3 separate regions of the Homo sapiens genome follow, and all the other regions are linked to region 1. The links are contacts of gene promoters, found by promoter capture Hi-C in human tissues and cell types (Jung and others, 2019). All regions are on one chromosome and are shown on one strand. Each heading gives the region's core, a stretch centred on a gene start or on the middle of the fragment in contact. The rest is flanking DNA. Distances are from core to core; before and after follow the strand shown. Region 1 holds the start of ZNF592 (zinc finger protein 592). Region 2 overlaps ALPK3 (alpha kinase 3). Region 3 overlaps ALPK3 (alpha kinase 3).

Region 1 (3,606 bases), core at 1,104-3,603:
GGAGATATTGGCAGGTATGCTGGGTTTCTTAAGTGGTACACAGGTTTGGAGTCAATTGTACTTAAATTTTAAAGGACAGTGACCCCAGCTGCCCTAAGGATGATTGTAGAGGGTAATCCAGGCAGCTGATCCATGGAAGCATGCATGCCTCCCTACCTCAAAATATTTCAATCTTTATGCACTCTTTAAATCTTGTAGGAAGAGGCGGACTTCTCTGACTTTTTGCTCACCCCTTTCCCCCTTCCCATCTACTTTTCCTTTTCTGGTTTCTTGCACCATCAATTATCCTACATCTATCTGCCATTCTCCCCTCTCAGCTCCTTTAGTTAAGGTCTCCCCACTCAAGTTAGGAAAAAAAAAAAAAAAATCACCGGCCAGGCATGGTGGCTCATGCCTGTAATTCCAACACTTTGGGAGGCTAAGGCAGGTGGATCACCTTAGGTCAGGAGTTCGAGACCAGCCTGGCCAACATGGCGAACCCCCATCTCTACTAAAAATACAAAAATTAGGGCCGGGTGCGGTGGCTCATGCATGTAATCCCAGCACTTTCGGAGGCCGAGGCGGGTGGATGACCTGAGTTCAGGAGTTTGAGACCAGCCTGACCAACATGTTGAAACCCCATTTCCACTAAAAATACAAAATTAGTCAGGCATGGTGGCGCATGCCTGTAATCCCAGCTACTCGGGAGGCTGAGGCAGGAGAATCGGTTGAACCCAGGAGGCAGAGGTTGCAGTGAGCCGAGATTGTGCCATTGCACTGCAGCCTGGGCAACAAGAGCGAAACTCTCTCTCAAAAAAAAAAAAAAAAAAAAAAAAAAAAAAAGCCAGGCATGGTGGCGTGCGCCTGTAATTCCAGCTACTTTGAAGGCTGAGGCTGGATTATCACTGGAACTCTGGAGGTAGAGGTTGCAGTGAGCCGAGACCACGCAATTGCACTACAGCCTGGGCTGCGAGACCGAAACTCCGTCTCCAAAGACAAAAAAAAAAAACAAAAAACAATCAACTTTTCCCTTTACTCTTTTGCAGAGAGGGAGGGTCTCGCTATGTTGCCCAGGCTGAACTCAAACTTCTCGGCTTAAGGGATGCTTTTGCCTCAGCTTCCACAGTAGGACCCAACTTTCTCCTTTACTCTTGGTACTTCTTGAGCTCCAGGCCTACTTTTCTCTCTCTCACTGCCAAACATTTGAAATCATCACCCTTTATTAACTCCATTGCTTCATTGGCTAACATACTCTTTAGACAAGCTCTTCAACTCAGTTCTGTGCCTGGTGCACAGCAGGCTCCGGCTGCATGTTAGTTCCAGCCATCTTGCACATTTGCATCTCCTTCCTGGAGAAGGAATTTCTCCATGGTTAGCAGTGTGTGCTCACTCCTAGTCACCAGGGCCTCATCTCCGTGTTCCCACACCCTGACCTTGCTGCCGCCCTAATGCTGCGGACCCAGTTTCCAGGTACGCCGGGTTCTTGGAAGGTCCTGCCGGTCACCCTCCCAGCCTTCTGCCAGACTCACTGAGTTCTCACCCTGCACAGTCATCGTTTCCCCAGTAACCCTGAGAGATCTCCCAGTCTACCTCTTCGAGGCACCCGTTGCCAGTCCTCCATCTCTGTTTGCCGCGCGTCCCTCGGTTACCCCAGAGGCAACACGTCAGGCTGCCCCGCACCTCCAAGCCTGCGCGAATGTCCTTGTAGCCAGCTATGACCAAACATTTAGGGCGCACCTGAGCGCCAGGCCCACGCCACCCCTGCTTGCTTTCACTTAACAGCCTCGACTAGGCCCCCTATGCGCCAGGTCTCAGTGAAGAGGACGCAGTCCCGGGTCCTGGGCGCTCTTTGCCGGGCGAGACAGCTGCGTAGGCAGATCCTGTTCCTCTAGTGGGCGGCCTCGGCCCCTGCCCCTGCCCCGAGGCGCGTCAGAGGACAAGAGGCCCAGGTCGCTGGCAGCGGCTGCCTGCCCGACCGCACAGGGTGCCTAGCACGGGTGGCGGGGACTGGAGCCGGGCGGGGGCCGGCCGGGGTCGGGGGTCCAGCCCTGAGCGGCGCCGTCCCCGCCCCGCCCCGTCCCGTCGCGTCCCGCCCCGCCCTACCCGCCGCCGCCGTCGTCGCCGTCGCCGGGCCTGCGCCGCGCAGCCCGCCTCGGGCGGGAGGCGGGAGGCGGGAGGCCGGGCCCAGGCCGGGGCAGCCCCTCCACCGCACCGTCCTGGGCCGGTGCCCAGGTCCGAGTCGCCTTCCGCCTGCCCCCCCCCCCCCCCAATCCCCCGCCGCGGCAGCCCCAGCCAGGTCCCGCCGCCAGGCCGGCTCCCGCCCCCGCTCCGCCCCCGGAGCCGCAGCCCCGCCCGCCATCGCCGTCGCCATGTTGTGGCTCCCGCAGCCGGCGCTGGGGACGCGCGCGGCCGAGACTCTGGCCTGCAGTCGCCGCCGCCGCCGCCAGGTAAGCGCCCCCCGCGGGCCGGGCCGAGCGGGGCCTGCGGGCCGGGGCAGCCCCAGCCTGGGCCCGGGAGGATCGCAGCCGGGACCGAGTCCGAGCCCGAGCCGGGGCCCGGCCCTGCAGCCTGGCGGACCCTGGCCGCCGCCAGAGGCGGCAGCCACTTCCCCCGACCGCCGCCTGGCGGGCCCGGGCCGCCACCCCACCCCGCCCCCGGCCGTCGGGCGCCGGCCCCTTCCGCCGCTGCGACCGCCGCTGCGACCGCCGCTCCTTGGCAGGCCGGGCACGCTGCTGTCCTCCGCGCTGGGCGGGACGTGCGGCCGCCCTCGGCGATAGCCGGCGGCCCCCAGCCCGGGCACGGATAACGGTGCCACTTTCTCCCTCTGGGACGGCCTGTCAGCCCGACCGTCCCCGCCGCCCGAAGAGCTGTCGCCGTCACAGGGCAGACACTTCGGGGAACGACCCTCTTTGGCGCTCCTCAGTACTCCCCTCCCCTGAGCCCAAGTTCTGACCCTGAGGAAGGTTTCTCCCGGAGCAGACAGGTATTCCTAGAGCTCCAGAGTTGGGGTCCTCAGGGGTGACCAGGCCTGTTGATCAGGGTGAAAATTGTCTCTCTGCAAGGGCTCTTCCTGCCAACGAGGGGGTTGGCGGGAGGCTCAGTGTGACCTGAGGGAGGACAGGAGAGCGTCTGCTGGACAGATGGCCTCCTGGCCTTGGATCAGCGTTTGTGAGGGGGAGGGGTCCGTATGACCTTAGGTATGCCTGCTCCTGAGTACTGCAGGATTATTGAAGCTGTTTAGGGATTTTAAACCATTTTTTGAGTAGGCCAAAGGTGGCATTAAAGGTCCTGGATTGGAATAAGTCCACAGGCCCACCCAGGGAAGCATGTTTGGCATCCAGGACTAGTCTAGAATAGGACTGGCAGTAGAAGAATGGGACTTGGGGAGTAAGACGGTATTTGGCTTATGGTTTGCCCACTTGAGTTCAGGCCTGTGCTCATGGAGGGCCTGTAGGGTGCTTCTGTCGCGGGTGCAGTGTGGTGCACAGTGTGGCAGAGTGCGGAGGATGTGGACAGACAGATTCCTGGCCTGGTGGATGCTTGGTGGTATTTTAGTAGTCTGTTTCCTCAACCTCACTGTTACGTTACACAGTGAAAGGGGCAGAAGTGTGGTGCTAGTGCGTCCAT
Region 2 (3,461 bases), core at 767-3,266, 95 kb after region 1:
AGTGTTTTATAGTGGGACAGAAAGAAGACAGTGTTTCTTATGAGTGGCAGAAGGAAAAGTATTTCAAGAGTGGGGCTGGGGTGGATAAAATAGATAGAACATATTTACACTGAGACAAATACTGGTTATTTATTTGAAGTCCCAATTTAACTGGGTGTCGGTATTTCTTTCTTTCTTTGGTTTGTTTATTTGTTTGTTTGTTTTTTGAGATGGAGTTGCCCAGGCTGGAGTGCAGTACAGTGGTGCGATCTCAGCTCACTGCAGCCTCCGGCTCCCGGGTTCAAGCAGTTCTTGTGTCTCAGCCTCCAAAGTAGTTGGAATTACAGGTGTGAGGCACCATGCTCAGCTAATTTTTGTATTTTTAGTAGAGACAGGGTTTTGCTGTGTTGACCAGGCTGATCTTGAACTCTTGACCTCAAGTGATCTGTCCACCTCAGCCTCCCAAAATGTTGGGATTACAGGCGTGAGCCGCCGTGCCCAGCCCAGTATTTCTTTTTGCTAAATCTGATAACCTTAAGTGGAGACATCCTCTGGTTTTGGTGAGAACTAAGATGAGACTGTTTCTTAGGATAGAGGAAGCAGTTATAGATCGGGAATGGCTTCATGGGGGAACAGGAGGAAAGCAGTGTTTCCCAGGGGTAGGGACAGAGGACAGGTGGTTTCTCGGAGCAGTGAAGGGAAGCACATGAGGGACAAGCTGATACAGCACCTGGCAGAGGGCAAAGGGGAAAGGATGCTTTGTGGAGAACAGGAGGGGCTTTCCCATGGAGAGAACTTTCATGGTGGGAAGGAGGGAAAGACTAGTTTTAAGGGTGACCATGGGAAATGGTTTTATTTCATGGGTGCTAAGGTTAGACTGTAGGAACAGTAGTTCAGAGGGCTTTGGAGTGGAACAAACCTCAAGGACCTAAAACCAGACTTTCTGGAACCTGTTCCTGACTCTTGTCCCCCTCATGCCTGGTCTCCTGTAGTTTTGGCCACTGGAATGGTAAGTTCACAGTGGCCCGGGGAAGGCTTTGTGGGGCTGCTGCACATGCCTGACAGCCCACAGGCTGGACAGCAGGGACTTTTGGAAGAGATGGCTCTCATAGGCCCTCATAGCTCATTTAGGAAGGGACCAGGCTGGTGGCCAAGTGAGTGTGCAAATCTGGCTTCTCTGCCTAAATGGTGAGGAACCCAATACCAGATGGTGGCATCCTCCTGGTAGGGCCAGAGGAGGAAGTACCAGCCCCCTCTTCCTTGCCTCCCAAAGGTAGGAGGAGGGGCTCAGGCAGTGTGGTACCTGAGAAGTTGTCTGTGTTGGTTCCACTGCTCCAACAAAAACCTCATGGTTAGGCTGGGTACAGTGGCTCATGCCTGTAATCCCAGCACTTTGGAAGGCCGAAGCAGGTGGCTCACTTGAGGTTAGGAGTTTGAGACCAGCTTGGCCAACATGGTGAAACCCCATCTTTACTAAAAATACAAAAAATTAGCCGGGTGTGGTGGCACGTGCCTGTAATTCTGACCACTTGGGTGGCTGAGGCAGGAGAATTGCTAGAACCTGGGAGGTGGAGGTTGCAGTGAGCAATAGTTTAGATAGTCTCATGAGACTAAGGAGACAAAAATTAGAGCCCATGGTCTCAAGAGTGGGAGCCCTTGTAAGCCCCCTGGGTTTTGGGTTGGGACTCTGAAGGTTTGTACCCTAGGAGAAAGGGGAATCAAGTAAATTAGTCTCACGGTATTGAGTTACTGACGAGCTCCAAGTTACATGGATAACTAAGAAATATCTCAATCCCTGAAATTAGAATTAGGTGGTTCAAGATACCTAGTGCCCTCAGGCACCTGGCAGAAGCAAACAAAAATCATATCTGGAGGATGACAGCATCATCTTAAGCCTGAAATTATTTTTAAAAAGTATTTCAAATATAATATTCAGCATGAAATGAAGATAAGTCCACAGAAGATAGAAATTGGCCCACAGGTTGCCGGGCACAGTGGCTCACGCTTGTAATCGCAGTACTTTAGGAGGCTGAGGTGGGCAGATCACTTGAAGCCAGGAGTTCAAGACCAGCCTGGCCAATGTGGTGAAACCCTGTCTCTACTAAAAATATAAGAATTAGGCCAGGCATGGTGGCTCATGCCTGTAATCCCAGCACTTTGGGAAGCTAAGGTGGGTGGATAACAAGCTCAGGAGTTCAAGACCAGCGTGGCCAAGATGGTGAAACCCTGTCTCTACTAACAATACAAAAATTACCTGGGCGTGGTGGCGGATGCCTGTAATCCCAGCTATTCGGGAGGCTGAGGCAGATAATTGCTTGAACCTGGGAGGCGGAGGTTGTGGTGAGCTGAGATTGCACCACTGCACTCCAGCCTGGGTGACAGAGTGAGGCTCCATCTCAAAAAAACCCAAAAAAACAAAAAACAAAAATTAGCCAGGTGTGGTGGTGCATGCCTGTAATTTCAACTACTTGGGAGGCTGAGGCACGAGAATCACTTAAACCTGGGAAGCAGAGGTTGCAGTGAACTGAGATTGTGCTACTGCACTCCAGCCTCGGTGACAGAGTGAGATTCTGTCTCAAAAAACAAAAGAAAAGAAAGAAATTGGCCCACAGGTTTCCAACTTTTGGAATTATTAGACATGAATTATAAAATTAAAATTAGTTTACCTCCTTCATATATCGAAGGAGATAAGAAGACAAGATTGCAAATTTCACCAAATACCTAGAAACTATAAAAAGTGGAAAAGGCCGAGCGCAGTGGTTCACGCCTGTAATCCCAGCACTTTGGGAGGCTGAGGCAGATGGATCACCTGAGGTCAGGAGTTCGAGACTAGCCTGGCCAACATGGTGAAACCCCATCTCTACTAAAAATACAAAACTTAGCTGGGTGTGGTGATGCACATCTGTAATCCCAGCTACTCAGTAGGCTGAGGCAGGAGAATCGCTTGAACCCGAGAGGTGGAGGTTGCAGTGAGCTAGGATCACGCCACCGCGCTCCAGCCTGGGCAACAGAGCGAGACTCCGTCTCAAAAAAAAAAAGGTGGAAAAGACTTGAAAATGAACCAACTAGAATTCCAGAGCTGAAAAATACAATAACTAATATTATTTATTCTGGTTATGGCAGTTTTATTTCTGGATAAGATGGAGTAAATACACTTGATTCTGTATCTCCCACTGAATGCAGCCTAAAATTTAGGCAAAATGTATAATACACCTACTTGACAACTTTGAAAAGCAAATAGTCGCAGACAGATTGGGGATGAAGACCAGAACTCAAAGTACCACTGAACCTACGGTGTTTACTTTTTTTTTTTTTCCCTTCTGGCATTTCCTGGCCTGGTCTTAATGCTGTTTGAAACCCAGATGTAAACATTAACTTGGGCAGAGAGAGTTCCAGAAGCCCTCTAGATCAGCCTTCAGGAATGGAAAAGAGATTTCTTGGCAGTGACAGTGGTAGCAACAGAGGCCACAGGTGCCTAAAAC
Region 3 (4,061 bases), core at 964-3,463, 110 kb after region 1:
AAAGTTTGATACACATTTGAAGGGCTCAAATAGGGATGGGCACGTACTGCTCCTACAAGAGACAGGCTAAGGCTTGGGACTGTGAAGGCAGCCAGTGATAAAAAGATGTTTGGAGCTGTATTTGCTAACAAATGCATTAATTCCTTCATTCTCTCACTCTTTCAATCACTCATTCATCCAACTAGTGACTTTGTTTTGAGATGGAGTCTCACTCTGTTGCCCAGGCTGGAGTGCAGTGGTGTGATCTTGGCTCACTGCAACCTCCGCTTCCTGGGTTCAAGCAATTCTCGTGCCTCAGCCTCCCCAGTACCTGGGATTACAGGCATGCACCACCATGCCCAGCTCGTTTTTGTATTTTTAGTAGAGATGGGTTTCACTATGTTGGCAGGTCTGGTCTCGACCTCCTGACCTCAAGGGATCCACCTGCCTTGGCCTCCCAAAGTGCCAATTAGTGACTTTTGTTTAGTAATCAAATAAAATTTAATCAATATCAAATAAAACCTCAACCTCAAAACTAAGTAATAATTATTTAATATCATCAAACATCCAGTCAGATTTCCCCAACTGTCTCATATGCGTTGGTTTATTTGAATCAGGAACCACTCATTGCTTTTGGCTGATGCAGCTCCCAAGTCTCTCTTAATATTTAACAGTTCCTCCTACTTTATTTGTTTTCTTCCTTTGCCATATGTTTGTTAAAGTCACTGGTATAGAATTTCTAACATTCTGGATTTTGTTGATTGTGTTCCCATTTAACATGTTAAATGCTTCTTCCAAATTGGTAATCAGATTTAGAGGTTTGGTCAGATTCAGGTGTGATTTTTTTTTTTGGAGGAGGGGCAAGAATAACTCACAGGTGCTGTGTATACCTTTTGCATCCTATCTGGAGGCACATACTGTCAGATTGTTTCACTTTTAGTAATGTTAAGGTTGGTCACTGGGTTCATTCAGGTGCATCTGTGTGATCCATCCCCTTTTAAAGTTAAAAACAATCTGATACAAACCCTATTGTTATCTAGGGGTTTTGGCAGTCACTGATTATTGCCTAAATCTATTATTTCATTAGCAGTTGCAACATGGAGATAGTTTAATTTGGTCTTTTCTTCTTCATTCATTAGCTGATTTTTTTCTGTAAAAAAGGGATGATTATTTGGTTATCCCAATACGTTAAGTTCCAACAGGAAATGAAGGATAAATACTTGCTCTTTTCCCTTTAGTTACTAGAATTTAGAATAACGAGTTGGTGCCCTACCCTACCGTTTTCCATAGGTGACCAGTGAGGTTTATTTTTTGAGGGAGGAGATTGGATTCTTTTTTTTGTTGTTGCAACTATGAATACATGGATTTTTAACATATTTGATATGTTCAATATGTTGCAGTAATTATTTTTGTTGCCAAGATTGTTTCCTTTTTGGCCCAAGGGAGCCCCTTCAGGTTGGCCCCTGTGTCCTTCTGCCAAGTCTCTAATAGCTTTTGCTAGCTCTCTTGCTTTCTGGATTCACACGATATTTCAGGTCCTTGCTGTACACTTTCTGCCTAGACCTGGAATCAACCATTTCTTTAGAAAGCTCTGGTTTCCCTTTAATGGGAAATTATATTTAGCGGTCACAATTTGAGCATTAGGGGTGCTCATTGCTGCTGGATTGGTCCTGCAAACTTTTTGTTTCAGTCAAACGTGTTGGTTGAAATGGAGTCATGTATTCATCTGATCAAAACAACGAATTCCAAAACAAAGTAATTCTGGTATTCTGTATTGATTATTGTTGCCACAGAAAACCCCTGCCTTCCACAAACACATCCTGAGCACTGTGTTTGGACAGTGCTTAGGACGCATTTGTGGAAGGCAGGGGTTATGTGATGGATACCACATGGGTACCGCTAGATGGCAGGGGTTGAATCAAATAGAGTTTCTGCCCCAAGGAGCTCATAGTCTGGTGGGGACTTAATGTGCCCAAAGAGCAGGCGTGGACGGAAAGTGAGCCCAGCAGGTTGGCAGGGTGGGAGGCTCTTCTGGCCTTTTCCTTCCCTGTGAGCCCCACATTGGTGAGACAGGAGCTCCTGGTCTCCCACATTTCTCCTGTTCCCCTTCAGTTGGAGAAGAGATTGAGATGACCCCTATGGTGTTTGCTAAGGGTCTGGCTGACTCTGGCTGCTGGGGGGACAAGCTCTTTGGGCGACTGGTAAGCGAGGAGCTCCGAGGGGGTGGATATGGGTGTGGCCTTCGGAAGGCCTCCCAGGCCAAGGTCATCTACGGGCTGGAACCCATCTTCGAGTCGGGCCGCACGTGCATCATCAAGGTGTCCAGCCTGCTTGTGTTTGGGCCCAGCAGTGAGACTTCTCTTGTGGGCAGAAACTACGACGTCACCATCCAGGTACTATGTCCCATCTTCACACCCCATTCTTTTATTCTCTCACCCCCTCCCCTTTCCCAGCCCAGGTCCTGTTAGGATGCCCAGTATCGAGGCAGAAGGCATCTCAGTCTCAACCTTATGAGGCTCCTAGGAGGACCTTGTGGAAAGCCTGAGATGCAGCCCAGAATTCAGATGCTTGGCCTCAGAGAGCTTGAGAGCTTCAAAACGACTTGGGCCATAGTTTTCAAACTCTATGTTTGCAGCAGAAACCTTCCCCCTGCCCCATACATAATCTCTCATGGAAGCCTTGTTTATATGTGAGATAAAAGGGGGGTGCTGTGGGTGGGGTGGGCAGTCTTCCTGGCTCTACACAGAGTGGTCTCTGGGACACTGTCACATACCATAAGGACTCCCAAAAATAGTTCAGAAATCACTTCGAAAACCTCAGTTTGAAAAGAAGTCCAAAGCCGCTTGTTATACAAAAGAGGAAAATGAGATGCAGAGTGGGGAGCAGGGAGGAGTAAGCCCTTCCTCCCCCAGGGCTGGAATCCTCCTCTCAGTCCCCTAACAGAATAGGTAGCCCACTCACTTAGGGGTAGACACAGTGGAGGACTGAGGAATTTCTTTGCTCACCACATTTGGTTCCCTCATCCACAGGGGTGCAAGATCCAGAACATGAGTCGGGAGTACTGCAAAATCTTCGCAGCAGAAGCCCGGGCCGCGCCTGGCTTTGGGGAGGTGCCTGAGTAAGTACGCAGCGAGGAGGACGTGCAGTGTGCAGCACTGTTGCCTTGGGCTTCTGCAAAGACAGTGATTTCACAGCCTCCCAGGGGCATCCTGCGTTATGCCCATGTGCAAATAGGCTCACAGCCCCATGCTCAGCTCAGTGGCCTCACAAAATGTAGAAATAGAGACCTCATTTACTCTCCACTTGAGAAAAGCCTCTGCTCTGGACTTGAGTCCCGCCCACCCCGGTTCCTCATTCTTTAGTGCAGATGTTGCTGATTGCAGAGTTTGGACACAGCAATTTCTGGGACTCCATGAAGGTGATGGGGTGGGTTAAGCTAGGCAGACTGATCAGGACACTTCCGTGGTATGCAGGCAGGGTCAGTGTGGATTTTTGTAGGAGTCAGCTATAAATGGCAATTGTTTGCATTTTGAGACTTGAACTCTGACCTTTGCATACCTGGGGTCCCACTGGCAGAGAGCCACAATCTGGTTGAATCCTCTCTAAAGGTGCTCCTTCTGTTTGACACATACATGCCTCAATCCCTCACCCAAGCCACACAGTCTGCCTATGCCCATAGCAGGGTTTGGTTCTAATCCCACTGACCAAGAGAATGGACAGGACTCTGAAGCCAAAAATATCCATTTCCTTTCCCAAACTCAGGGTGGAGCTGCTTTCCTTTGCTGTCCTTTGGGCTCGGAGCTGAGAATTACATTCTTGGAAGGGCCCTTCTTTTAGGTCCAAGAATACAGAATTGGGTGGGAGGGAGGAGCTCTCTGGGCCATACTTCCTGCTTACTGCAGGGTGAAACTATGTTTAGGATCATCCCACTGTATCTGATCTACCGGCCTGCAAACAATATCCCATATGCTACCCTGGAGGAAGACCTGGGCAAGCCCCTGGAGTCTTACTGTTCTCGGGAATGGGGCTGTGCTGAGGCTCCGACAGCATCTGGCAGCTCTGAGGCCATGCAGAAATGCCAG

Evidence for each region. The method cuts DNA at HindIII sites, captures the fragments that hold promoters and counts their contacts. A contact is called where the count stands out against the background at its distance.
Region 2: a fragment that was not itself captured here is called in contact with the fragment with the promoter of ZNF592 in region 1 in 2 of the 25 tissues and cell types used here (spleen and thymus).
Region 3: a fragment that was not itself captured here is called in contact with the fragment with the promoter of ZNF592 in region 1 in 2 of the 25 tissues and cell types used here (mesenchymal stem cells and spleen).

The regions. Positions count from the first base shown.
Region 1 is chr15:84,746,239-84,749,844 of GRCh38, forward strand. ZNF592 (zinc finger protein 592) reads left to right here and starts at 2,354. Exons shown (of 11, transcript NM_014630.3): 1 at 2,354-2,426. RefSeq lists enhancers at 1,506-1,805, 1,878-2,717, 3,246-3,325 and silencers at 1,876-2,295, 2,356-2,845. The HindIII fragment of the contact is 21,328 bases long and covers 1-3,606 here.
Region 2 is chr15:84,841,851-84,845,311 of GRCh38, forward strand. The region is part of intron 5 of ALPK3 (alpha kinase 3); the gene reads left to right. Among named protein-coding and RNA genes, the nearest start is that of ALPK3, 26 kb to the left of the region's middle. The HindIII fragment of the contact is 3,856 bases long and covers 89-3,461 here.
Region 3 is chr15:84,860,544-84,864,604 of GRCh38, forward strand. It overlaps ALPK3 (alpha kinase 3), which reads left to right. Exons shown (of 14, transcript NM_020778.5): 10 at 2,092-2,372; 11 at 3,009-3,097; 12 at 3,899-4,061. Among named protein-coding and RNA genes, the nearest start is that of SLC28A1, 22 kb to the right of the region's middle. RefSeq lists enhancers at 1,575-2,076, 2,645-3,146, 3,147-3,646. The HindIII fragment of the contact is 9,691 bases long and covers 1-4,061 here.